7 separate regions of the Homo sapiens genome follow, and regions 2, 3, 4, 5, 6 and 7 are each linked to region 1. Evidence: promoter capture Hi-C in 16 types of primary human blood cells and fetal thymus (Javierre and others, 2016). All regions are on one chromosome and are shown on one strand. Each heading gives the region's core, a stretch centred on a gene start or on the middle of the fragment in contact. The rest is flanking DNA. Distances are from core to core; before and after follow the strand shown. Region 1 holds the start of OPA1 (OPA1 mitochondrial dynamin like GTPase). Region 2 overlaps MB21D2 (Mab-21 domain containing 2). Region 3 has its middle 3.0 kb from the start of LINC00887. Region 4 overlaps MB21D2 (Mab-21 domain containing 2). Region 5 has its middle 12 kb from the start of LINC02048. Region 6 overlaps MB21D2 (Mab-21 domain containing 2). Region 7 overlaps LINC02037 (long intergenic non-protein coding RNA 2037).

Evidence for each region. The method cuts DNA at HindIII sites, captures the fragments that hold promoters and counts their contacts. A CHiCAGO score of 5 or more calls a contact.
Region 2: a fragment that was not itself captured here is called in contact with the fragment with the promoter of OPA1 in region 1 in 4 of 17 cell types (M0 macrophages, M1 macrophages, M2 macrophages and 1 more); the score reaches 16.0 in M0 macrophages.
Region 3: a fragment that was not itself captured here is called in contact with the fragment with the promoter of OPA1 in region 1 in 9 of 17 cell types (fetal thymus, activated CD4 T cells, total B cells and 6 more); the score reaches 11.8 in fetal thymus.
Region 4: a fragment that was not itself captured here is called in contact with the fragment with the promoter of OPA1 in region 1 in 5 of 17 cell types (M0 macrophages, endothelial precursors, M1 macrophages and 2 more); the score reaches 12.2 in M0 macrophages.
Region 5: a contact is called between a fragment that was not itself captured here and the fragment with the promoter of OPA1 in region 1, in 1 of 17 cell types (fetal thymus). The highest score is 5.0, in fetal thymus.
Region 6: a contact is called between a fragment that was not itself captured here and the fragment with the promoter of OPA1 in region 1, in 4 of 17 cell types (M0 macrophages, M1 macrophages, M2 macrophages and 1 more). The highest score is 11.9, in M0 macrophages.
Region 7: a contact is called between a fragment that was not itself captured here and the fragment with the promoter of OPA1 in region 1, in 1 of 17 cell types (erythroblasts). The highest score is 6.9, in erythroblasts.

Annotation. Positions count from the first base shown.
Region 1 is chr3:193,591,835-193,594,768 of GRCh38, forward strand. OPA1 (OPA1 mitochondrial dynamin like GTPase) reads left to right here and starts at 1,374. Exons shown (of 31, transcript NM_130837.3): 1 at 1,374-1,575. The coding sequence starts at 1,544. It also overlaps a transcript of ATP13A4 not described here. RefSeq lists enhancers at 1,036-1,687, 1,083-1,152, 1,203-1,252, 1,688-2,339, 1,853-1,932 and a silencer at 1,473-1,622. The HindIII fragment of the contact is 1,567 bases long and covers 813-2,379 here.
Region 2 is chr3:192,863,399-192,866,332 of GRCh38, forward strand. All of the region lies in intron 1 of MB21D2 (Mab-21 domain containing 2), which reads right to left. Among named protein-coding and RNA genes, the nearest start is that of MB21D2, 53 kb to the right of the region's middle. The HindIII fragment of the contact is 1,529 bases long and covers 725-2,253 here.
Region 3 is chr3:194,314,297-194,317,230 of GRCh38, forward strand. No RefSeq gene overlaps it. Among named protein-coding and RNA genes, the nearest start is that of LINC00887, 3.0 kb to the left of the region's middle. RefSeq lists a silencer at 1,218-1,557 and enhancers at 1,262-1,762, 1,628-1,677. The HindIII fragment of the contact is 3,891 bases long and covers 1-2,934 here.
Region 4 is chr3:192,881,327-192,884,260 of GRCh38, forward strand. The region is part of intron 1 of MB21D2 (Mab-21 domain containing 2); the gene reads right to left. Among named protein-coding and RNA genes, the nearest start is that of MB21D2, 35 kb to the right of the region's middle. The HindIII fragment of the contact is 2,337 bases long and covers 312-2,648 here.
Region 5 is chr3:194,286,874-194,289,807 of GRCh38, forward strand. No RefSeq gene overlaps it. Among named protein-coding and RNA genes, the nearest start is that of LINC02048, 12 kb to the left of the region's middle. The HindIII fragment of the contact is 1,279 bases long and covers 830-2,108 here.
Region 6 is chr3:192,902,853-192,905,786 of GRCh38, forward strand. All of the region lies in intron 1 of MB21D2 (Mab-21 domain containing 2), which reads right to left. Among named protein-coding and RNA genes, the nearest start is that of MB21D2, 14 kb to the right of the region's middle. The HindIII fragment of the contact is 7,645 bases long and covers 1-2,934 here.
Region 7 is chr3:194,257,741-194,260,674 of GRCh38, forward strand. LINC02037 (long intergenic non-protein coding RNA 2037) reads left to right here. Exons shown (of 4, transcript NR_125402.1): 4 at 1-32. Among named protein-coding and RNA genes, the nearest start is that of LINC02036, 9.1 kb to the left of the region's middle. The HindIII fragment of the contact is 5,890 bases long and covers 1-2,934 here.

The DNA of each region.
Region 1 (2,934 bases), core at 124-2,623:
TATTTTCTAAAATAACAAGGAAGTAACGATTACAAAGACACTTTTTGTACAACCCTACAATCCCAGGAAGATCTACAGTTTGCACAGGTTGGTACAGCAAATTGCTCTCTGGACCTGCCATTGAAACAGTCACCACAATAAATAAAGAAAATTCTAAGAGTCCTGCATTTGGGAAGTTTACTATCAATGGCTAGGTCTACTCTTGGTGGTATTGTGAGTGCATGGGTCCAGACTTATGATTCTGACAATTAAGGGAAAAGGAATTGTCTTTATGCTCTGTGTATTTGTGTATGTGTGTGGCATGGGTGGGGGGCGGGTAGTGGGGAGGAGGTGAAAGGTCCCTGAAGTAAAGAGGATGCACAGGACCCTTTTATTTTAGTCCCTAAAAATTGGCTTCATAACCGTTCACAGGCCACATCCCTTTTACGGGCCCTGGTTTCCTTACAAAACATAAAAGGTTTGTGTTGGAAGGGGAAAGGAGTATTTAAAGTGATGGAGGAGAGGAGCTCAAGATGGCTGAGATCTGGGCCTGTCCAACATTGAGAAATTTGGGAGGGGAGCCATCAAAGAAGCCTGGGAGCAGCAGTTCCAGGGAAAAAGGAGAATGTGATGGCCAGAGAGCCAAAAGAAAAAGTAGTTGAAGGAGTGCTCAGCACTAGGCATCTGAACTGAATGCTGTGGCAGGCTCACTGGCCACAAACAATAGGGAGCTGGTGGAGGCCTTGACGAGGACCATTTCAACAAACTGGTGGGCTTAAAATCCGGAAGAAACAGTTGAACAAATCATTTTGACGCCTTTTATAAACCACACAAGCTTATTCCAAACCCGTTACTGGCCTAACTGATTTAAGTCCCTTTCCCATCTGATCCTCAGAGATTCTAAGGGACTTAGCCTATCCATGACTCTTCGTCCTGCTTCTCACCTCCCATGATTGCCCTAACGATGTGAAAGTGCTTTCAAACAAAGATGCCCAAGAAAGAAGGTAGGCAAATGTGCAAGCATTAGTTTGTAGTACGCTATTACTGTATTTCACCTTGCACTCTCTAGTTTCCTTCGTGCTCCCTCAATATCCAACTCTTAATAAATTCATGGCTCCCGGTGAGCATTCATCAATTCTCATTCCACGCCTTTAGCCCTTCCCGTTCCCGCCCAACTCTCGCTCCCTCCCCTGGCCAAATCTCTAACCTGCAAGGCTAATTCCGAATTCCAAATCGGAAGCAAGAGGGCGGGGCCCCGTGAGAGGCGATGGATTGCTCCAGTCCGTTCCCGACGCACTGTGCGCATGCGCTGGTCCTCCGCGGACCGTTCGTGCTGCCCGCCTAGAAAGGGTGAAGTGGTTGTTTCCGTGACGGACTGAGTACGGGTGCCTGTCAGGCTCTTGCGGAAGTCCATGCGCCATTGGGAGGGCCTCGGCCGCGGCTCTGTGCCCTTGCTGCTGAGGGCCACTTCCTGGGTCATTCCTGGACCGGGAGCCGGGCTGGGGCTCACACGGGGGCTCCCGCGTGGCCGTCTCGGCGCCTGCGTGACCTCCCCGCCGGCGGGATGTGGCGACTACGTCGGGCCGCTGTGGCCTGGTAAGTGCAGGCTCTAATCTGGCCCCGTTAATTCTGGGGCCTCTTGAGAGTGGGGCTGTCTTATCTCTATCTCCAAAAATGTGCAGGTGACTCTCAGGCCAGGCCGACGGCAGTTGGAGAATTCCCAGATGTTCTTGAGGACCCAGAATGACAGGAGCCCTGGCTGGGCTTACGTTCGGAGCCGGCTTCAATACTGGCCCTTTTCTCTGGCCCTACCCAACCCGAAAATTCTGGACGCCTCTCAATCTTGGCCCGTCTCTATTGTCCTTTTGTCTCTGCCCTTTACACCCTTGTGTCTTCAGTGTTCTGTCTGTCTCTGGTTGCCTCTTTTGCCTTTTTTCTGTCCTCTCCCTGCCAGGTTTGGCTCTGTCCATGAGTCACCTCTCTCCACATTTCTCCTAACTCTCGGTGTCTTCTTTTTCTTCCATTTCCACGCCATGTGTACATTGCATCTTCAGGTACCTGGGCTCTTCTATCGGGGAAAGGGGCGTCCGTCTCTTTCCCTAGCCCGCTGATAGAAGTCAGAACTAGAGCAATGACGCACACGGTGTCAGAGACGGTGATTCGAGATGCCCTTTCAATAGCAGCTTTTTTCTGTGTTTCGGGAGGGAGACTTACTTTTTGATGCAAGGTCGTGAACGTGGCACCACCTTTCTAATCTCAATCATTGTTGCCCTGGGGTGGTTTAATTCTAAATAGAAAATCATAGAAATCTTTTCATTTCTGTGCGTTACTATATGCATTGTAATGAGATTAAATTGGATTTTATAGGAAATTTTGTTCTAGTATCATTAGATACCTTCAAGCTTAGCTCATTGTTGCAGGCATTTGATAGGAAGTAAGATGCATCAAGCAAAATTGGAAAAACGTGGTTTTCCTGAATTAACTTCTAAGCAGTTGTTTTGAATTTTTTCCAGACCTTTTTAAGTGGTATAGATAATTTATCGTGTTTATAAGGAATGGAATGCATTCGTTAGTTTGTTTTTGTTTTGTTTTGAGACGGAGTCTTGCTCTGTCGTCCAGGCTGGAGTGCAGTAGCGCTATCTCGGCTCACTGCAACCTCCGCCTCCCAGGTTCAAGCAATTCTCCTGTCTCCGCCTCCGGAGTAGCTGGAATTACAGGCACGCGCCAGCACGCCTAGCTAATTTTTGTATTTTTAGTAGAGAGGGGGTTTCACCATTTTGGCCAGGCTGGTCTCGAACTCCTGACCTCATGTGATCCACCCTCCTCGACTTCCCAAAGTGCTGGGATTACAACCGTGAGCCACCGCGCCCGGCCCAATTTGTTTTATATAGGTTAACTGGAGTCCAAAATACAGAACTAGATGAGATAACAATAGTTAACAGTGTTAGTCAGTTA
Region 2 (2,934 bases), core at 239-2,738, 730 kb before region 1:
TACGGGACTAACGGTTGTTTTCCAAGTGGGAATTGTGATGGGGCACTAACATTAATTCTTGAATCAAAAGGAACGTTAGCACATGGTGTAAGTTTAGTTTTTTTTCTTTTTAACTCATTCATACACTTATTAAATATTTACTGAGTACTTAATATGTGACAAAACTTCTGCAGTGCCCTATGAAGACAAGGACGAAGAAGACATGATTCCTGTCCTCAAAGAGCTCACTGTCTACTACAGTCTGTTTGTGTCCCCCCAAAATTCACATTGAAATCCTAATCCCCAAGGTGATGATTATTGGGAGATGGAGCCTCCAGGAAGAGGCCAGGTCGTAAGAGCAGAGCCCTCATGAATGGGATTTCTGCACTTGAGACTTCAGAGCTCCCTTTCTCCTTCCATCAGGTGAGGACACAGTGAAACAACAGCTGTCTGTGAACCAGGAAAGGGAGCTTCGCCAGACACCAAACCTGCCAGAGCCTTGATCTTAACCTTTCCAGAAGCCAGAACTGTGAGAAATTAATTTCTGTGGTTTATAACCCACCCAGTCTATGATATTTTGTTACAGCAACCTGAATGGACTAAGACACTCCCCACCAAGAAAATGTAAAAACATAATGTGACAGATGTCTTTACATCAGTAGTGGATGCTGTGACAGAGGCATTTACAAACACAGAGGTATGAAAAAGTGAAGAATAATCCTCTGTGGCAGTGGGTATCAGGGAAAGCTTTCTGTAAAGTTTACATTTGTGCTAGATCTTTAAAAAGTAGGTGTGCTCCAGGTGAGCAAGGTAGGGAAGTACTTTCTAGGCATGTCAAAAGGCCTTGGCCTAACTCTTCCAGATACAGATAAATGTGGGGAATAAGGAGGGAAGGACAAGAAATAAACCTCAAGAGCTGTGCTGAAGTACCCCAGTTTGTGTGTGAACTGGTCCAGGAAACCCCGCAGGTGCTCAGACAGTCCTCTTTTTAATGTTATCATCATTACTGTTATTGCAGAAATGGGGTCTTGCTGTGCTGTCCAGGCTGCTCTTGAGCTCCTGGCCTCATGCAATCCTTCTCCCTTGCCCTCCTAAAGAACTGGAATTACAAGTGTGAACCACCGTGCTTTTTGTTGTTGTTGTTTTTTGACAGAGTTTTGCTCTTGTCATCCTGGCTGAAGTGCAATGGCACAATCTTGGCTCACTGCAACCTCGGCCTCCTGGGTTCAAGCGATTCTCCTGCCTTGGCCTCCCAAGTAGCTGGGATTACAGACACCCGCCACCACGCCTGGTTAATTTTTGTACTTTTAGTAGAGATGGTGTTTCGCCATGTTGGCCAGGCTGGTCTCGGACTCCTAAGCTCAGGTGATCTGCCCGCCTCAGCCTCCCAAAGTGCTGGGGTTACAGGTGTGAGCCACCATGCCTGATCCCAACTCCAATTTTTAAGAGTCATATTCAGTGACTGCCCTCTCACCCAGAGCACTGTTATTTCTACTATTTCATTTTTAGAGTGACTCCAGTTCCACATTCCTCCTCCTACACTGCTTATATACCCACCTTGCAGTTTCAATGGGAATATTAAAATACTCACAGATGAAAAACCAGACAGAAGACATCTCAGATGGTTTTCCCTCACCCCCAACAGATTTTTAATTCATTCATTTCTCCTCAATCTGGCCTACAGAGAAGGGAGAGGCTGAAATGAAAGTAACAGCTGCTTCTCAACGGTGGAGGAGCATGAGGATGTCAGTGTGTCGCGCTTGACAGCTGTGAACAATCTTAGAACATAATTATGTAACCTCCTGCATGTGGAGCTTTCCACCCTTCCAGAACACTCTCATGTGTCCCTGAGCTTTATTCTTACAGCAACCCAGGGAGCTGATCAGCATGAATGAGGCTGGAAGGAGGCTCAGAGGTAGGTGAACTGCAAGGTAGAAGATGACCCAAGATTAGCCCTCAGTCTCCTGCTCCCAGGATGCTGTCACCTTTCATAGTTTTGCTTGATTTTCATAGGAAGCATGTAGAAGGGCTTGTGGGATTGTATATTGGAGAAATGGTTCAGCAGGAGTATGTAGAAATTCAAAGTACATGCATTAACATTCCACTGGAAGGGCAAGAAGAGCAAGTACTGATTTGCTTCATCTTACAAGTAAGAGACATTTCAGAAACATGATCAAATTAACCACACCTCTGCATTCTGAATTTGGGAGTCCTAAGAAAAGAGTTAAGGATAAAGTGAGAATTGAAGCTGTAAGATGCCTGTGGCTGTGATGAAGCTTAGAGAAGCAGATTTGGTCTACCAGGCCCCCTCCCAATCTTCCCCAACCCCCACCCCATCCTCACCATTCTTCTGTGTTCAACATATGATTGTCTTTATCAGCCACCTTTAAGAAGTTGCTGATCCCTGCCTGTAATCTCAGCACTTTGGGAGGTGAAGGCAGGAGGATTGCTGGAGCCCAGGAGTTTGAGAACAGCCTAGGCAACATAGTAAGACTCTGTCTCTACAAAAAATAAAAAATTAGCTGGGTGTGGTGGCTTATGCCTGTAGTACCAGCCACTCTGGAAGCTGAGGCGGGAGGATTGCTGGGGCCGGGGAGGTTGTTGAGGCTGCAGTGAGCCATGATTGTACCACTGTACTCTGGCCTGGGCAGCAGAGGAAGATCCTGTCTAAAAAAATAAATAAATAAAAAAAAAAGAAGTTTCTGATTCCAAGGGTAATGATGAAATGAACTCATCAGAAACTGAGACTAGAGCCACTGACCCTTGTGTACCAACAGATTTTTCTTCTTAAATATCATTATTTCAAGCTAATTGTTCATCTCTAAGGCTCAGAATTTCCCCAAAATGCTCAGGTTAGGAAAACAACAGCAAACTTTAAATATATACTAAAATTACAATGTACAAGTGTAAGCAGGAATCACATTCTTCCTGAAAGAACTAAAAACATCACTGGCA
Region 3 (2,934 bases), core at 220-2,719, 720 kb after region 1:
CTCCCTCCCTGGGGCTGTAGGGAATGCTCCCCTCACTGGCCAGCCAGGGGTGGGGTTCAAATGGGGGAAGCCAGGAGCAACCCTTGCAGTCAGGGCTCCAGGCAGGAATCAGAAGAGAAGCCTCCGCCTCTTCTCCCCAGCAACATCTCTTCCCATCTTAGAATTATGGGCTGGCAAAGCCAGGGAGGCTATCAGGCATCATCCAAACCATTATGTACATGGCCTTCCTCCAAATGAAATCTCACACAAATATCAGATTGGAGGTTTGGGAATGGGGATAAGGGGATGGGCAGAGATGAAATATGGCGTGGAACATTTATGATAAAGACAGCTCTGGGCCAGGCACGGGGTGGTTCACACCTGTAATCCCAGCATTTTGGGAAGCCAAAGCAGGAGGATTGCTTGAGACCAGCCTGGGCTACACAGTGGGACTCCGTCTCTACAAAAAATAAAAAAAAATTAGCTGGGCGTGGTGGCGCATGCCTGTAATTCCAGCCTCTCAGGAGGCTGAGGTGGGACAATCGCTTGAGCCTGGGAGGTCAAGGATGCAGTGAGCTGCGGTCACGCCACTGCACTTCCAGCCTGGGTGACAGAGCAAGACCCTGTCTCAAAAAAAAAAAAAAAAAAAAAAAGACAGTTCTGGCGTCCTGGTTGGGGAAACTCCTCCAGCCATGGAAGACCCTTCCAGCCAGCTGGGGCAGCTAGACAAGACAGCGTTGCTCTACTCGGCTGAGTTCTCCTCTCCAGAATCAACTCCCATCGCTGCTTAAAGGGAGTAATGTGGCTGTGGGGGACAGAACACTAGAGTTTCATCAGCAACCTCGTCACCCCCAACATACAAAACGCTCCTTACAAACGCAGTCCTATCTGTGCTGCTAAAGAAGGCAATCCCCCCTTCACCATCCCATCTCTTCCACTTCTGTGCATGAGAACGCATAGGCAGGAAGTATCTGATCCACACGGCTCAGATGAGAGAAAAAGGAGGAGCAGGAACAGGAAAGGAACTGAGCAGAGGAGAGACCCAGAAAGGGAAAGGTGAGAGGTGGTTCTTGCGGCTGACTTGGCAAAGCCCCAGGCCTGTGGGATTTTCCGGGACCCTCCGTGTTCTGAAAAGGCAGGGGAGGGGCAGAGAACAGCCAGGGAAGATGGAAAAGGAAACTGGTGTCCTGCCGGGTGGAAATGGGGGAGAAACTCTCGCGTGAGTGTCATCAGAGCAGCATGAGCAAGGGCTCGGTCCCAGAGGTGAGCCCGGCGTTCTGCCTGGAGGGGGCGGGCAGCAGGGCTGGCCAGGGTGAAGCAACCTGTGCCGAGCGGCTGCAAAGGCCGCGTCTCCCCAGCACGGAGCACATCACTGACGTCAAGCGCGGCGAGGCCGCGGCCAGCATTAATTAGGTGCCGATGCACGGGGGCGGGCCGGCCTGGGCCAGAAGCCGCTCCCGGAGGCTCCGACCCCCGGGGCTTCGCGCCGCCTCCCAGCCCGGAGCTCCTCCAGCCGCTGGCGAGAGGAGGCTGAACCGCAGCCGGCCTCCCAGCGGTGCCACAGCGCGCCCTAGTGGCCGTCGTCCGGAAAGCGCCGTCAGAAGAATCGCAGGCTCGCAGCCTGGGAGCCCCGCAGCCCTCATCTTCTGTCCGCCCTAAGGCTCATTGACTTCACATTAGAATCACTTGGGGAGACTGTAAAAATCCCGATGCCCGGGAGGCACCTATTCCGATTACATTAGAACCCCGACAAGCGGGCCCCAGGCCCCAGTATTTTTAAAAACTCTCTCGGTGCTTCCTATGCACCGCCCAGTTTAGAAGCTGTTGTCTTAAAGCAGTGGTTCTCAGAATTGAGCTCATGGGAGTCGCCTGGAGGGCTTGTTACATCACATATTGCTGGGCGCTACCCCAGAGTTTCTGACCCAATACTTCTGTAGCTTGGCCCTACTCGCTCTTACAAGGTTCCCAGGTGATGCCGATGCTGCCGCTCCGGGATCACACCTGGAGACCTAGTGCCAAACCCTCCTAATCAAGGCACCGACTCAGCCGGCACCGCGGGATCACCAGGGAGCTTGTTAGAAATGCAGGTTTAGAGACCCCGCCTCAGAACCATTGAGAGAGAATCTACATATTTTATTTTGCTTTTTATTGACCCATAATTGTACGTATTTCTGGGGTACAATGTGATGTTTTGATACATGTATGCATTGTGTAAAAATCAAATCAAGGTATTTAGCCTATCCATCATCTCATCTTTGCTAAAGAAATTGTAAATCTTTTCTACCTACTTTGCAATGTACAATACGGTACTGTTAACCACAGTCACCTTGCTGTGCCATAGAACACAAGAACTTCCTCCTCGCTGCAACTTTGTACTTGTTGACCAATCTTTCCCCATCCAACCCTGCTCCCAGCCTCTGGTAACCACTCTTCCACTCTCTCCTGCTAGAATCTTCATTTTCTCTAGACGCAGGTGATTCACCCAACATTAAGGTTTGAAAGTATTGCTCTAAACACCATTTGTGCAGGCCTTACACAATCAGGCTATGTTGACAGCTTGGAAGACCACTTCACATCCCCCACCCGGCCCCAAACCTGATCTCTGGATCAGAGAGCTGGATAGAATGTCCCAGATTATCTGATCCAATTCTTTTGCAGGACAGATGAGGGAAACTGAGGCCCAGAGAAGGGGATGAACTTGCCCAAGCTCCCTGGGTTCTAGGGTGGCCTGTCATCCTGGGTACCTCAAAGCTCATATGGTCATAAACAACCCCCTTCCTCCCCAGGAGGCAGCATGTGAGTTCTGCTCTTGATCCACCTATCAGGCGGCACGCACTCCAGGGGGGCTGTGGCGGCCCGGGCTCCATCCCGGCTGCTTGGGAGGGCACTGAAGCAGTGAGCAGAGACACAGGACATCGCATCAGAGAACATGGTACAAGGAAACCTGTGCAAGAT
Region 4 (2,934 bases), core at 230-2,729, 710 kb before region 1:
CATAGGCTAATGACTGACTGGTTGCTCTGTAGCTCTGTTTCTGGGGCAGGGGAAACTAGAAGATCTCTGTGGCTCCTTCCAGCTCGATGTTTTATGGTTCTAAAACAAATGTCAGCCACCTTCCCTCCCCATTATTTTTGGTAATGAGAAGCTAAATTTAACTGACACACACACAAAATACCCTAAACGTATAGCTTTGCTGTAAGAAAACTGTACTGACCGCTACGAAGTTTGAGCTGTCTACCAGTTACCACAACCCTTCTGGGGAAAGAGCACCCTCGCTGGCAGGTGTTTGTCTCAGAAGCTGCAGAAGCTTATGTCACAAACTGGCCAAACCAAGAGAAATAAGCTATTCGGTACCTGTGGAGGCCAAGAAAGGAAGGCTTCTGGAGAAACCTGGCGGCACTGGCCAAAGAGGGCCCATCAGGTCAGATGGCTAACACAAAATTCCTGTGAAATTGTATCACTAGGGAGCTATAAATGCCACATGAGCAAAACGAAGCGGCATCAATGTTTATCTGTTCTTGTCCCCAAAAGTATTGAACTCTGGTTGTCATTCTCTGTGATATTTGCATTTTATCCCAGTCTTATAAACATTGGGATCCAAAGGAACTGTGAACCAAAAAGGATGATTCCTCTTGCTTATCCCACAAAAGAACATTTCCTAAAGGGAACTCTTGCCTGGCTACTTCCTTTATAGGACGGAATAGCCTCTGAACTCCTTGAGGGCAAGGGTCGTCTGTCTCATTCAGTTATGTATGTCTAATGCCTAACCTAAGACTTGGCACAAAACTGACATTTAGTAATTTTTTTTTTTAGACGGAGTTTCACTCTTGATGCCCAGGCTAGAGTGCAATGGCACAATCTTGGCTCACTGCAACCTCCACCTCCTGGGTTCAAGCGATTCTCCTGCTAATTTTGTATTTTTCGTAGAGATGGGGTTTCTCCATGTTGGTTAGGCTGGTCTCGAACTCCCGACCTCAGGTGATCTGCCTGACTTGGCCTCCCAAAGTGCTGGGATTACAGGCATGAGCCACTGCGCCCCGCACATTATTAAACAAAATGGCCAAATGAATGAACGTATATGCTCCTTTGCTAAAGGCAGTGACACTAAGGATAAGACAAAACACTATGCAACACTTGGAAATAAGGCAAAAGGAAGGCAGCATGTCCTTTCAATGCCATACTGGTGTACTGTCTCATAGGTGCACCCAAGGGTCATCTGATTCTCTAGGAGATGATGTACCTGTGTTTCACTGACTGTTTACCATTGGTTATGGTTCAGACTTTATGAAGTTACATGTTAACTGAGATTTTTATCCATTTTAGATGTATATAATTTCTCTGCCTGGTAGAACTAAGATCCCCAGATGTGATTGGTTTACTGCCCTACAGGACATCAACCAGTTTCCTTTTTTTTTCTTTGAGACGGAGTTTCACTTTTGTCACCCAGGATGGAGTGCAATGGCACGATCTTGGCTCACTGCAACCTTCACCTCCTAGGTTCAAGTGACTCTCCTGCCTCAGCCTCCCGAGTAGCTGGGACTACAGGTGCCCACCACCACACCCAGCTAATTTGCATTTTTAGTAGAGATGGGGCTTTGCCATGTTGGCCAGGCTGGTCTCGAACTCCTGACCTCAGGTAATCCACCCACCTCAGCCTCCCAAAGTGCTGGGATTACAGGCATGAGCCACCACGCCCGGCTAATTTTTGTATTTTTAGTAGAGATGGGGTTTCACCATGTAGGCCAGGCTGGTCTCAAACTCCTGATCTCAGGTAATCCACCCGTCTCGGCCTCCCAAAGTGCTGGGACGACAGGTGTAAGCCACCGTGCCCAGCCTGACCAGTTTCATATCTAACCTAGCAATCTTGTGCCGGTATTCTTCAGGGCCTATTAACTACACAGCTCCTCAAATGCTCTTTGAACCACTTTAGCTTCCTACTGGTTCCCTCATTAACGAGTTAAATACATCTTTGCCATGTACTCATTTTATATTTGTATGAGTCATGTTTAAAACTTTTTAAAAATTATCTATTGACAAGAAAAACATAAGAAAAGAAGATCTAGTTTGTAGCATAGCATGAGAGTAAAACATATACATAAACATTTATATTTTAGGTTAAAAATGGTAGTGTGGAAGACAGCTATTGACAGTGGCTGAAGCGTAGGGAATTTTAAACATGGCTTTTAGCTTAGTTTATAACTAGGTTTTCTGTTTATTGCCAGGAATATAAATCCTTGACAATTATCTGAAAGAATGGGGAAAAGGAAACGATCCATTAGAAGGTATCTGGAAACATGATCCAGTAGTTGTAGTTGTATCTCTGTGACAACAGAGTTCGGTGGGATCAGTAGACCAAAAGATCAGCATTCCAGTCCCAGGAATGCCTCTGTAATACTAGGAGAGTCACCTCCCTCTGAAAGCTAGTTTCTAGCTCCAAAGATACATAACTATTAAATAGTTCCCTGATCTGAGGCTTAAATCACCTTCATTCTGGCTTCCTTGATTCCCCTTTAGAGACATCTCACTGCCAGAAACAGGGGAGTCTTTTAGTCAATTTAAAATAAAAAAATAAGTTCTATTAATAGTGGTGTTGCTGCCTGAAGGCAACCATCAAATCTAGATCAAATCTCACAACCCTCTCAAGCTTGATCTGTTTCTATGGTTGACTCTCAGCATCTGAGGCTCCTTGTCACAGCAAAGTAGGTGAACATGAGTCAAAACCAGTTAGATTCACACACATGAAAAGCCATGTCCGAAGCCCTTGGCATGGGCGTATATCAGATGGGACATTCCCCTACCTTTCAAAGTTAGGGTCCAGTGTTGACGTGGTGATGTAAAACTGCATTTTCCTGCATTTCCTTCATTACTATTGTTTACATTCTAAACCTATCATTCCTTAACTTCTCCACCATTCAAACATTGTAAATC
Region 5 (2,934 bases), core at 219-2,718, 700 kb after region 1:
TCTCTGAAGAGAGCAGCGGTAGCTGAGCCCGTCATTATCTCGGCCCTTTTCTCCTGCCTCCAGAGGCAGCCCGGGACTCGGGTCCCATTGTGGCAAACAGCAGGTAGCTGAGGCAGGCCGGGTCACTCCCCAGACCCTTTTGTGCGGCCGTCCCCTCCTCCCTGCAGCTTGGTTCTGGGGATGTAAAAGGTCAGGAGCAGCCAAGCTTCCATACCTGAGCTTTTGTCTGGGGCTGGAGGCAAATGATTTTAGAAGCAATTTCTTGGAAAGCAGCCTGGAGACTCCCGTCTCCCTCGTTAAAATGCACAGCTGTACTCCTAGCCCACTCCTTGGGGCTGGGGGTGAGGGGACAGGGGGATTAGCTCAGATCATCTGGATCCAAAAATGCCCTGAGAAAAAAACTTTCTACCCAGAGGATGGTTGAGACAATTCAAATAGAAGCCTAGAGCCCTGAGATGCTAAGCAGTGTTTTGTGATAAACAGAGTGTGGTGTTCTGTCACTTTTGACTCTTCTTTGTTTTTAGTCGTAGCAGCCTGCAGCCTCCCTGCAACCTCTCTTTCCTTACCTGTCAAATAGAAATGATCCACCCTCCCTACCTGCCTCACACAGTTTACTAGTTATTCTGTGGATCCAAGGAGGTGATATAGAAACTGTTTTGCAAGCCATAAGATTCCATACGGCATTCACCATTTTTGCCCTCTGCTGGCTGTATGGACCCTGACTTGAATATAAGCCATCCCATAATGCAGTTAATTTTTCTGAAAATTATAGAGCAGAGATACAGGCAGATTTAAGGGCCTTAGGGCATGTGGTTCCAAGCCCTGCCCAAGCTTATGCTTTGCAGGTGAGGAAGGTCTCGGGGCAAGACAGGCTTTCATGGTGGTAAATTCCTTGAGGTTTGATGTAGCTCCCCTTAGAAGGCAGCTATGGGAAGCCACCTGCAGAAAGCTGGTGTGCAGATTTATGTAGGGAAAGATAAAAAGGGCCCAGGGGTGCTCACCAGCCACCAGCTTAATATAAGCCTTTGCAACCTGGCTGCCGGAAGAGCCAATGGGAGCTTAAGCTGCCTACCGGAAAGAAGGGGGTCCCCCAGGCTCCACCCAGGGTGCTGAGACCTTTCTGGACATCACATCTGGAGAGAACTGTGCAGGTACAGAATTCTGCTCAAGGGAAAGAGACTAGGATCATGAGAGGACTAGAAATCTCACTCTTACAAACACTGGCTGGGGAAGCTGAGGCTGCTTCCCCTATTTGAGAGTTCAGGGATATTCGTAGGGAAGGGGAATCGGGCTCATTCTGTGTAGCCCTAGGGACAGACACTGGGACTGCAGAGTGGAAGCTGAAATGAAAGTGTTTTGAGCACATGAGAGGAAAATATTTCAAATGCCCAGAATTTAAGAGAGAGTGAACAATCTATCACTAAGGGTAATCTAGCAAAGTGGGATACTGGGGAGAAGATTCATCATCCCTGAGCATTCATTTAGGGCTTACTCTGTGTCAGGCCCAACATGTCCTTTCTAATCATGAAATCACTCCATTCTTTGATTTATTAAGAAATATAACATTCCTTTTAAACAACCAGGTCTCACAACTCACTATCACGATGGCAACACCAACGGGGATGGTGCCAAACCATTAATGAGAAGCCAGCCCCATGATCCAAACACCTCCTACCAGGCCCCACCTGCAGCACTGGGGATTACATTTCAACATGAGACTTGGGCAGGGAAATAGATCCAAACCGTATCAACAAACATAGGCAAATCACATCTATTTTAATATACTAGCAATGAATACATGGACAACAAATATAAAATATAATGTATAATCAAGAAAATGAAATATTCAGGTGTTAATATAACATATAATCAAGAAAATGAAATATTTAGGTGTAAATATAACTAAAGATGTCCAGCACTTATGTGTTGAAAACATCAAAATGCTAATGAAAGAAATCAAAGAAAAATCTAAGTAAATGGTTGACATATGATAGTCATGGATAGGAAGAGTCAAAATAGTAATGATGTCAAATTTCCCCAAACTGATATACAGGTGCAACACAATTCCAATCAAAATCTCAGCAAGATTTCTGTAGATGTAGACAACAAGCTTATTCTAAATGTATATGAAAAAGCAAAGGGAGTTGAATAAGTAAAACAGTTTGGGGAAAATAATTTGGGAAAAGTCATATTACCTGATTTTAAGACTGATTAGATAGCATCAGTAACCAAGTCAGCATGAGGAATAGATACAAAGATCAATGAAACAGAATAGAGAACCCAGAAATGGGTCCTAGATATTCTAGGTATGAGCCCCACACAAGTAGGGCCAACTCATTTTTGACAAAGGTGCAAAAGCAATTCAATGGAGAAGGGATAGCCTTTTTAAGAAACAGTACTGGAGCAAATAGATATTCTTGGGCAAATAAGAAGAAAGAAAAAGAAAGGAACCTCAACCCCAAAATCATACCTGTTACAAAAATTAATTAAAAATGGACCATAGATTTAAATGTAAAACATAAAACTATAAAACTTTCAGAAGATAACATAAGGACAAATCTTCAGGACCTGTGGTTTAGTGAAGAGTTCATAGACCAAAAGCAAAAAAAAAAAAAAGACAGAAAAAAACTTTTAAGTGATAAATTGGACTTTATCAACACTACAAACTTTTGCTCTATAAAAGCCCCTCTTAAGAGGAAGAAAAGACAAGTTATACACTGGGAGAAAATATTTGCAAACAGCATATCTGAAAAAGGACTCATATCATATCTAGAATATATAAAGAATTCTTAAAACTGAAGAGTAAAAAAATCAAATAATTTAAGTAGACAAGTGGTAAAAGATATATGAAGAAAAATTTTAATGAAGAGTATATAAAAATAAAAAATAAGCAGATGAAAAGATGTTAAACATCACTAACCAATAAAGAAATGC
Region 6 (2,934 bases), core at 278-2,777, 690 kb before region 1:
TGATTACAGATATTAGTTGTTCAGAGATCAAAATATTCATCATGCTATTCAAAGCTGTGGAAACAGCACAGGCATAAGAAAAGGTCACACTTTTTAGAGGAAAGAAACCAGAGAGAAAGAGATGAAGAACAAATCAAAAGACCAAAGCAAACACGACAGACCAAAAATACACCTTGCCTATGAGGCTATTTATTTAGCATCCTTCCTCTAATAGCAATTAAGAGAACTTCAAACTACAAGGTGGCTTTGTAACAGGGGAAATTTTCCCTACCTTGAAGCACAGCCCTCTTGGAGTGACTTCCCCTGTCTTCAAAGTCAGCAGAATCCTCCCTGGAGCACAAATGCTATGAAGCCAACTGTCTCAGGTACAAGTATCTTTCTTAAAGCATTAATTACCCAACATTTACATAACCTCCATTCCGCCCAAAAGTAAAGGCAGCATTCAGGATGATCAAGTCCCCTTTTCTTTTTGGCCCTCAGTTTCCATGTCTATAAAACGGAGGAGGGAGGAAGTCAAGCCACCTAATTTTCGAGTTTCCTGGCAGCATTAAAATTATAAGAATCTGTCCATGATTTGTACTTTGCATGGTAAGAGGTTTTATTTTGCTTTTTTAAATGAAGGCTTGAAAAAAGTTCATAGTTATTTGCCAATTTCTGCCTAAAGCTAGACTTCTTGGGTTAAATCCTCACTTTATTAGTAGCTCTGTGACTTTGGGCAAATTACTTAACCTCTCTGTGTTTCAGATTTCTCATCAGTAAAATAAGGATAATAGTACTAATAGAGTTTGGATATTTGCTCTCCCAACAACCGGTATCTCATGTTGAAATGTAATCCCCAGAGTTAGAGGCGGGCCTGGTGGGAGGTGTCTGGATCATGGGGCAGATCCCCCATGAATGGCTTGGGCCATCCCCCTGGTGACAAGCAAGCTCTCACTCTGAGCTGTTGAGAGATCTGGTCATTTAAAAGTATGGGGGCACCTTTTCCCCCACTTTTGCTTGCTCCTGCATTCGCCATGTGAAGTGCCTGCTGCCATTTTACTTCCATCATGACTGGAAACTCTCTGAGGCTTCACCAGAGGCTGAGCAGATGCCAGCACTATGCTTCCTATACCACCTGCAGAACTGTGAGCCAATTAAACCTCGGTTTAAATTACCAGTCTCAGGGATGTCTTTACAGCAATGCAAAAACAGCCTATTACAAGTACCTTCCTCATAGTGTTGGTGTTAGGACTGATTTAGCTAACATACATAAAGTAATTAAAACCACACCTGGAACACGGTTCGCAATATTTTAGTGTGGTTATTATTATTTTCAAACGTTTTCCCATTCAAAGAGAAAATGTATTCAGAAGACAGTATGCAAGGACAAACACACAGCAGGACACCGGGTTCTAGTCACGATTCTGCCCCAAACTAGCTGTATGCTGTGGATGAACTGCCACCCTTCTCTGGGTCTCAGTTTTCAGAGCAGGCTGCAAAAGAACTTTCCTGAAAGTATTCAGATCAGAGGCGATAAGTTGATAGGCAGTGTTCTGTTTGACCTACAGTTTTAAACCCCATGGTGTTTCTTTAAAATTTGATTTATTCTCAATACTTAAAATCTGGAGATTTTTCATAAAAATCCACAACATCTAAAGTTCTATCAGCCCAGACCCTCGGCCCCGGGCCCTTGGCTGCGGTTCTTAAAGTGCGGTCCCTCAACCAGCAGCAGCTGCATCACCTGGAAACTCATCAGAAATGCAAATTCTCAGGCTCCATTCCAGAGTTACAGAGTCAGAAACTGTGGAAGTGGGGCCTGGCCATCTGTGTTTCAACAAGCAGGACACTGATACACACTGAAGTTCCAGAACCACGGCAGTGGAAGAACAACGGGCAGGTGTTGAAGGGCAGTGGCCCCATCAGAAAACAGGGATGAGAGGTGATCTCCATTTACCAATGTACCCTGCCTTCCTGGCATCCCTGACTCATACTGAGGAGTCGGCATTTACTGAGCCACCCACCACACTCATCTTCCTTACCGTCCAGTCCCTGGGAGGCCTTGGGCTCCGCAGCTCTGACCTAGGTGGACCATCTTTCTCACAACGGGGTAATGAGCCCGCAGGCACCATATGCCCGTAGGATTGTGTTGTTCCAAATCAAAACTGTGTGAAAAGCAGGCTGTGCACACCAAGGGCACAGTTGAAAGAACAAACTGTTGAGTTGCCTTTATTAATCACAACACAATCCGCGCAAGCAGCTGCTATGAAGAACAGCTGCAGCTGCTAAAAGGGTGATCTTGAAGCAGCCTAAAACAGTGCTTACAGCTGAATGCCCATCAGGCACAGGCAGACTTACAGTCTGCCTCACTCAGTGCCTTTCTCCAGGCCAGAAATCATCCCCTTTCCATTCCTTGTGACAGGGTGGGATGGGGTAGAAAAGCTGTTGTTTTGTTTTTAAATTATTGCCAGCTTGGGCAACATGGCGAGATCCTGTCTCTGCAAAATATTCAAAAATTAGCCAGGCGTGGCTGGGCATGGTGGCTCACGCCTGTAATCCCAGCAATTTAGGAGGCCGAGGTGGGCGGATCACGAGGTCAGGAGTTCGAGACCAGCCTGACCAACATGGTGAAACCCCATCTATACTAAAAATACAATAATTAGCCAGGGGTGGTGTCAGGCGCCTGTAATCACAGCTACTCGGGAGGCTGAGGCAGGAGAATCGCTTGAACCCGGGAGGCAGAGGTTCAAGTGAGCCGAGATCAAGACATTGCACTCCAGCCTGAGTGACAGAGCACGCCCTGTCTCAAAAAAAAAAAAAAAAAAAGAAAAAGAAAAGAAAAGAAAAGAAAAATTAGCCAGGCATGGAGGTGTGTGTGCCTGTAGTGCCCACTACTCAGGAGTCTGAGGTGGGAAAATTGCTTCAGCCCGGGAGGTTGAGGCTGCAGTGAGCCGAGAT
Region 7 (2,934 bases), core at 220-2,719, 670 kb after region 1:
GTGTGCTTGTAATCCCAGCTACTCGGGAGGCTGAGGCAGGAGAAACACTTGAACCCGGGAGGCGGAGGTTGCAGTGAGCTGACATCACGCCACTGCCCTCCAGCCTGGGTAACAGAGTGAGACTCCATCTCAAAGAAAAAAAGAGATATATCTGCATGTGACATGGAAAGAGGCTCAGAATATCAGACATTTTACTACAGATCTTGAAAACAGCTCTCCAAAACTAACTCCAGATCCACCCTGGGGTTCTCAACTCCACATGGTTTTCTAAAATTGAGACCAAGACTAAGATGAAGAGCTATGCCTCGCCCTGATGCTGCCAGGACTACTGTTCCCATGACTACCTTGAGGTGCAGGCTGAGACCCTGGGTGTCTGTGGTGGCAGAGTACAGCAGAGGAGTTGGAGTCAAAGCAGTTTGGATCCTCATCCCAGCTGGGCCTCCTGATGTTGGAGGGCCCTGGACAAAGGGTTTTCATTTGCTGGGTCTCAGTTCTCCACATGGACAACAATGCACTGTATGAGTTTTAAGGTTCTTTTCAGCTCTGACTCTCTGTGAGTCTGAATCCAGTAGGAGCTATTATTTCCTTGATTCCTCCTTACTGTTTTGTTCCCTTCTTCTCTGGTTTCTGTATTAAAACTTTATATGTTTATGAATGGATAATCAAAATGTGGTATATCCATATCATGGAATATTATACAGCCATGAAAAGGAATGAAGTACTGATGCATGCTACAACATGGATGAACCTTAAAAACACTAGGCTAAGTGAAAGAAGCCAGTCTCCAAAGACCATATGTGGTATGATTTCATTGATATGAAATGCTCAGAATAGGCAGATTTGTAGTGACAGAAAGTACATTAGTGGCTGCCTAGGGCTAGGAAGAGATGAGGAGTGACTCTCAATGAGTACAGGATTTCTTTTGGAAGTGATGAAAATGTTCAAAAATTGATTGCAGTGATGGCTGTACAACTCTGTGAATATATGAAAAACCCTTGAATTATACAATTGAAATTGGTGAATTGTATGGTATATGAATTGTATCTGAATAAAGCTGTTAAAAAAACGGGGAAGAAGTTTAAGAGAAATCCAATATATTTTAAAGCTCTGCTCATGGCATTGGAGGTTAGCCTTGAAAATTAAATCCACTCACAGTCCAACAATTCTATGTTGTTTGGGTTTTTAAATTTTTCCCTATTATTAAATTGATTCATTTGAATGTAACTACTTTAAAATCACCCCTTCTCCGAAGGTCTAATTAGCAGTCTAATGGGATCAGAAAAAGGAAAAATGGGATCTGACAAGTTTCTATGCTTGATTCCAGAGAGTTCATTGAGGTAGTTTCTCTTTTCTCTAGACTCTTTTGTTAGATTCTACTGGAAATCCTATCTGAAGAATTATTATAGAACAGTGCAGCTCATACTTTAATGTGCACACAAATAACGTGGAGATCTTGTTAAAATACAGATTCTAACTTAGGAGGTCTGGGGTGGGGCCTTGGAGTCTTGAACCTCTGACAAGCTCCCCATCGATGCTGATGCTGCTGGCCCATGGACCACACTGCAAGCTGCCAGGCTCCAGAACACTGTCTAATATGACCACTGAGCACTTGCAATGTGGCTAGTCTGAATAGGGATGTAATGTAGGTGAATGAATGAGAGAATATAAGTGATGTCAGTGTAAAATATATCATAGTTTTCAAAGACTTAGTAAAAAAAAAGAACATGAAATAATTTTTATATTAGTTGGACATTGGCATAATAATATTCTGCCCTGGGCGTGGTGACTCACGCCTGTAATCCCAGAACTTTGGGTGGCTGAAGCAGGCAGATCACTTGAGACCAGGAGTTAGAGACCAGCCTGGCCAACATGGCAAAACCGTGTCTCTACTAAAAACACAAAAATTAGCTGGGCATGGTGGTGCACACTTGTAATGTCAGCTACTCGGGTGGCTGAGGCACGAGAATCACTTGAACCCAGGAGGTGGAGATTGCAGTGAGCTGAGATCGTGCCACTGCACTCAAGCCTGGGCAAGAGAGCAAGACTCTGCCTCAATAATAATAATAAAAATATTCTGGGCACATTAGATTACATAAAATGTATTATTTTTAAAATTACAAATTTTATTTGTGAAAGAGACTGGTAGCACCCCTCTCTCAATTATTCAACTCCCCTTTTTCCTTAATAACAGATTTCCAGCTGGGCAAATGGTAGCCACATGGAATAAAGACTATATTCCCCAGCTTCCCTTCCAGCTAGGTGAGACCATGTGATATAGTTTGGACATTTACCCCAGCCCAAATCTCCTGTTGAATTGTAATCCCCATTGCTGGAAATGAGGCCTGGTGGAATGTGTTTGGACCACGGGGGCAGATCCCTCATGGCTTTTGGTGCTGTCTCCGTGATAGCGAGTTCTCACGAGATCTGGTCATTTAAAATCATGTGCTCCCCCTCACCCCGCCCACTCTCTCTCTCTTGCTCCTGTTTTCTCCATGTGAAGTGCCTGCTCCAGCTCTGCCTTCTGCCATGACTGTAAGGTTCCTGAGGCCCCTCCAAAAGCAGATGCTACTATACTTCTTGTATAGCCTGCAGAACCATGAGCCAGCTCAACCTCTTTCCTTATTATAAACCCAGTCTTGTGTATTTCTTTACAGCAATGCAAGAACAGCCTAATAAGCTGTGTGACTAATCACTGCATGAAACGGAGGGAGAGAGTTGTGCAGCTTCCAAGAACCTTCCTTAAGAGATTATGTCAGTTCACCCCTTGCCTTCTTCTTCTTCATTCCTTCCTCCATCCTGCTGACTAGAATGAAGAGATGTTGTCATCTTGGACCATGAGGTCAAGGCCATGAGTGGACCAACAGGATGTAAATGTCATGAGGGCAGGGATTTTGTCTGTTCCCCATTCCCCAGCTGCTGTGACCCCAATGCCTA